2 separate regions of the Homo sapiens genome follow, and region 2 is linked to region 1. Evidence: promoter capture Hi-C in human tissues and cell types (Jung and others, 2019). All regions are on one chromosome and are shown on one strand. The core of a region is centred on a gene start or on the middle of the fragment in contact, and the rest is flanking DNA. Distances in the headings are between cores, read along the strand shown.

Region 1 (2,776 bases), core at 175-2,674:
GCTTGCATCCTGGTCTCTAACTGAATGGTAGCCCGCCTACTTAGCTTGAGTGTTTCAAGGACTCCTCCTGGTCAAGAGCTGGGTTTCCCTATTCATTTCATTTAAACAAGCTCCCAAGAAGGCAACAGGGACCCACTGTACCCCAAGAGGCACTCCAAGTTTCCTTCAGAGAGGAAAAAGAGAGACGGGGCTCCTAGAACCCACTCTCCCCAAAGGCGAGTTTCCCAGGTAAGTTCATTTCGGGCCCGAGACTGATGGAGCCACCCTCCCACCAGAAGGGCGGCGTGGAGGACCGGAGACCGAAAGTCGGGCCTCTGGGAGAAGCAGCTGGCGCCCAGGGGCTCCGCCGCCCGCACCCCACTCTCGCCCGCTGGGGACGCCCTTCCCTCCCCAAGGCGTGGACGCCCCGCTCCGCTTCTCTCTACGCAGGCCCGCGCGGCCGCTACCTGCAGCACTTGGCCAGGCTCTCCCGCAGCGTCTTGCGCTCCTGCAGGCGCCGCTCGTGCTGTTGCTGGAAAGCGAGCTCGCTGTAGACCGGCCGCGACACCATGTAGCTGCAGCTGTACTCGGGGAGCTGCGGCGGCTCCGACCTGCCGCCTGGCGCTGCCATGACCTGCGAGCCAGAGGACAGCGAGGAGGGAGGACACGCGGTAAGCGAGGACGATCGGAGGGGAAGAGCGAGGAACAGAAAGAACGGGATCACCTGTTAGCTGCAGCCAGGCCCCCCTGCACCGCGAGTCTGGTCCGCGTCCTGCAGCCCTCGGCGCTCGCGACAAGCGCCCCACGGCGCGCACGGCCAGCCTGCAGGGGGGCACCTGAGAACCTTCGGGTCTCGTGGCCTGCACCCGCTGCCCGGGGTTCCCCAAACTTGAAGCGAGTAAGCCCCTGCTCTGGGGGCTTCCCGAGTTCCACCCAGTCCCCTATGGCCCGCAGCCAGGGCGCTGTCCGCGTTCTGAAATCTCCCCCAAACCGAGGGGCTGGGGCAGGGGCCAAAGGCGCTTGCAAGGCTGGAAGGGGACACTGAGATTCCCTCCCTCCCCGCACCTGACCCGGGACGCAGCTCCAGGTGCGCACTGGAGGAGAGGTGCAGACCCCCGGGCCAGGCGTGGAACCGTCAGGGCGCGCTCCGCGGGTCCCCAAGAGGCGGACGCTGCAGGCACATTCCAGCAGCTGTCGCAGCCCTCTCGGGGGCAGAACTTTCAGCTTATTGAGCAAGTCTCTCCCCTCGTCCTGTTTTCCGAGCAGCCTGTTCGCTCTCGGCGTCTCAGAAAGAAAGCTGTACTGCCCCCTGCCCACCTGATCCGTGACCACTTAAGAGTCCCATCCGCAACCCTCGAGGCCTCCCCGGGAGTGGAGCCCGGGCCGGGCGGTGTGGGCATCTTCAGGGCGAACTCACCTGTCTCTGCTCGCGCCCCGCCCGGAATGCCCCGCGGACTACCCTTCCGCTGCCTTTATAGCGCTCTCAGAAGGCAGTGGGACGTTTTATTTACGGAGCAACAGACACCTTGGTCGAAGGGAAAGACACACACAGGCTGCGGTCTTTCCCAACCGATCCTATCAGGAAAGAAATCCTACCCCTCCTGCATTCTTCCCCTTTCCCGAACCGGGAAGGCTGAGACTCTTACTGGCTGCCACGCAGGGGCCACCCGGATCCTCACTCATCCCGTTACTAATCTCAAGGGTTGCGAGGTCAGGGGCGGGCCAGGCCCTGTGGGACTCCTTAAAGAAGAGCAGAGCCCGCCTAGAGGAAGAGGTCCGTGGTCTCTGGGAGCCTGCCACAGGTGCTCTCATACCACATGGGGAGGAGAAGAGGAACAATGGCCAGGTTTCTATATTAATAAGTCCTTGAATTTCTAGAAAGTCTTTTAGGAGTATTCAATGGGTGGAGGATACAGAGAGTTCACGATTTACTCAGATTTTAGCCACTTATTCTACGTGTGCATGTGTGTGTGTTTTATTTCACAATCCAAATCAAGCCGTCCAGGTGGCCCTTTCTTACCCACTAGACTCTGTTTTTTCTTTTTCTCATTCTCCTGGACAATCAGGGAAGGAATAAACTGGACTACATGGAAATCAAGACTAGAAGAGAGGGAGGAGGAGCTGGAGCTATCCTACCTCATCAGTGTTTTGTCTTCTGTTGGGATGAACTTTGTTAAAACTAATGCATGGTTAAGATGAAAGGCAGAAGGAAGGGTTTGATAAACCAGAACATTCTCGCCTGATTGTTAGTGTTCTGAAGTAAATACAGAAGAGGCTCCAAAATACAGACCTCTGTACATCAACCTTCCGTAATCCACCTGCCTTGCATATGCAGACCATGACAATTCTACGAGCTCCTGGAAACAGAACTCAGAACTCCTCCCCAGAGAACCCTGATGCAAATTCTCTGAAATGGTAGTCAGCATGTGCGTTTTCCTGAGAAGTGAATGAGTCAACAGCTTTCAACAGATCTTCAAAGGCTTACTTCACCCAATGAAGTTAAGAACCACTAAAGAAGAAACCTAAAAGGAAAATCCAGGTCATGAACTTTGCAATTTTTATTCACATACAGAGAAGAGGGGAGGAATCTCTTGTGTATGTTTTACTTATGTATACCACTGGTTCTTAATAAAGGGCTTTTTTTGCCTCCAGAGGTCAATGCCTGGAGACATTTTTGGTTGTCACACCTAGGGAGATGCTATTGGGATCTAGTGAGTAGAGACCAGAGATGCTGCTAAACATCCTACAATGAAGTTTGCTATCACTCCAAGGTTTTGCATGCGACTTAAACTGTACA
Region 2 (2,776 bases), core at 1-2,500, 34 kb before region 1:
CACAGTCAACAGTCCAAATATAAGGCCAGCTAGTAAACCGAGATCCAGCCCCAGAATGATGGACACTATACACGTAAACACCCAGATAACCTAGGGAAAAAAATAGAAATGAAAAGAATTATATTAATGTATCAGGTACCATCATGTGATAACTACCTATAAAAATAAGATCAATGATCCACAAACAAATTACATTTTTTTTTTTCTTTTGAGATAGGGTCACACTCTATTGCCCAGGCTGGAGTGCAGTGGCACCATGATAGTTCACTGCAGCCTCCATCTTCTGGATTCAAGTGATCCTCCCGCCTCAGCCTCCCAAGTAGCTGGGACTACCCACAAGTACATACCACCAAACCCGGCTAATTTTTAATCTTTTATTTGTAGTAGAGACAAGGTCTCACTGTGTTACGCAGGCTGGTCTCAAATTCCTGAGCTCAAGTGATCCTCCTGCCTCCCAAATTGCTGGGATTACAGGCCTGAGCCACTGTGCCTGGCCAAATCACAGCTTTTTAAAAATATTGTGACTTCATTCATTTTATATTTAAGTAGCTGTAGAAACTGGGCTTCTCAATTAAGACCAACTGTCCCATTTTATTTATTTCTAAATTTTTGAATAGCTAATATATTTGTATGGTTCATAAGGGAATTATCATTAAAAAGGGGAAAACTCTTGCTCACAACCCTCCCCCTTCTCCACCCATTCCCAACTTCCCTCCCTCCTTGTATCCGCTTTTATTTCTGCCTGTGTCTGTGCTTTTCCCCAGCATTTCTATTCTGGTCTCTTTTTCACTTAACGATTTGTCTTGGAAAATTTTCCATATCAATATGTAGGAAGTCTTCTCATTCTTTTTATGGTTTAAATTAGAGAGGAACTCTGAAGGATTTAGCTTCTGATTTTTAGTTTCTCAGAATAGTTGCAAAGGTTATGTTAGTCAGAGTTAAAGTCAGCGTGGGTTTTTACATTTTGTATTTTGTTTTTGCATTGTTTTGTATGTTGTTTGTCCTTCTAAACTAGGGTGTTTAAACATTTTTTTGCTTTTTGTGTTTAGAAGGCCAAAGGTGTATGAATGAGCCTCATATGGGATTCTTGCTGGAAATTGACCTTCCCAGAGATACAGAATCTTCACAAAATGCAGTTCACATGGAAGACTTCATGGCTTTGATTTATCCCCACAATTCTAATTTCTCCTCTGGAGTTCCCAAAGCACAAGTGAGACTTAGGGGATGGGGGGAATATAGTGATATGGCAGGAAGCATATAAGAACCAAATCTTATTTCAGATAAATATAGGTGGTAGGTGACTTACAGCATCAATCTTATTCTGTCTCCACAGACGAGGAATGTCACACAGCTGCATAAACATCCCTTTCAGGTTGGCAATTACAACAGCTGCCAAGACCGACTGCCAAGAGAGACAGAGAAGGCTGTGTTATTCAGGGAATGGTTTTCCATGTGATGATTGTTAAATCTCCTGTTATTTATCTGGTAGCAGAGTAGTGAAGGGAAATTATGCAATCGGTATGCAGAGAAGCAGGGTTATACCTTCTGCAAGGGTTCCAGAAGCTTCCCCAGGGCAAGAATGGCGATCATCACAATCGCAGCAGAGATGATGCCAGCAACCTGGAAGACACACACCTCCTATGAAAAGGATTCGTCCTTCTCCCTTGTGTCTTCCAGCTCACTGGATGTGTGTATGAGACAGCCTGTTCACAGACACACTTCATACTTCCCTGTCTCCCCCTTCTGCTCAATACTGTCGAGAAAAGTGATAGTTATTTGCTCAAGCCACAAAACTGAACAAAAATGGCATCTATATATGCTATGGCAGAGAAGTTAAAGAAAATATGGGGACTGATCCTATGAAATTAAAGCCAGTTTGACAGGGATTTTATTTGGTGATAGTACACACCTGCGGTTTCGGCGTCCATTCAGGCCAAGCTTCTAGTTATTTACCATGGCAGGAAACATGGACCAATCCCCCCTTTCCCAACAACAGAGATCATTGTCGTATTCTTGGGAAATAAATTCTCATGGCACATAGCTGATTTTTCTGCATTATTGAAGCTGCAGCTATAATAGCAACTCTGATAACACTTCGTACTTGTAGCACATGGTCTCATTAAAGTCTCAGAGAAAATAAATTTACTCATCCTATTGCAAATTCGAAATGCCACATTTGCACATTGAGAGGTGGGATTGTGTCTCCTGCCTCCTCTGACAGTTCCACGGAGGCAGGCTCAGAGCTTTGCCCCAAGGCAGCCTGAAACAGTGACTATGGAGTAACGGGGCAATAGCAGGGGTAAAAGGAAGCTTCAGAAACTTTACCTTCGCTGGCAAAAATAGCTCTCCTAAGATCCATACTAGTTAGGAGAGAGGCTGAGGGGGTGGGGACTACTCTCTCGTTTGATTAGATGACCAATGAATTCTCTGTTGAGACAGCTGGGGCAGAGCCAAGATGAAGATTAGAAGCTCTGAAACAAAGAAGAAAAGGAGACAGGGAACTACAAGCAAAGCAATCAGAGAGGAAACAACTGGGAAGATTTTGTTGAGCACAAGTACTGTCTAGTGCAAAAGGTCTGAGTTACGGGAGACAGACACAGCAAATATAAACAGAAAATTAGAAAGCACTTGCTCTACCTGGCAAATTGATCATTTATATTTAGATTATAGTTGGGTCAGCCTGAGGCAATATGATGTGTATGAGGTACTAAAAAGCGTGCTTTGTATGTCTGGCTGGCTTTTCTATGCTCTTCCTATCCCCATCCTAGATTCCCAG

The links. The method cuts DNA at HindIII sites, captures the fragments that hold promoters and counts their contacts. A contact is called where the count stands out against the background at its distance.
Region 2: a fragment that was not itself captured here is called in contact with the fragment with the promoter of SLC26A4 in region 1 in 1 of the 25 tissues and cell types used here (hippocampus).

What each region holds. Positions count from the first base shown.
Region 1 is chr7:107,659,476-107,662,251 of GRCh38, reverse strand. SLC26A4 (solute carrier family 26 member 4) reads right to left here and starts at 1,424. Exons shown (of 21, transcript NM_000441.2): 1 at 1,397-1,424; 2 at 447-613. The coding sequence starts at 610. SLC26A4-AS1 (SLC26A4 antisense RNA 1) reads left to right here and starts at 454. Exons shown (of 2, transcript NR_028137.1): 1 at 454-650; 2 at 2,046-2,776. The HindIII fragment of the contact is 16,998 bases long and covers 1-2,776 here.
Region 2 is chr7:107,693,247-107,696,022 of GRCh38, reverse strand. It overlaps SLC26A4 (solute carrier family 26 member 4), which reads right to left. Exons shown (of 21, transcript NM_000441.2): 11 at 1,543-1,620; 12 at 1,307-1,402; 13 at 1-90. Among named protein-coding and RNA genes, the nearest start is that of SLC26A4-AS1, 33 kb to the right of the region's middle. The HindIII fragment of the contact is 5,968 bases long and covers 1-2,776 here.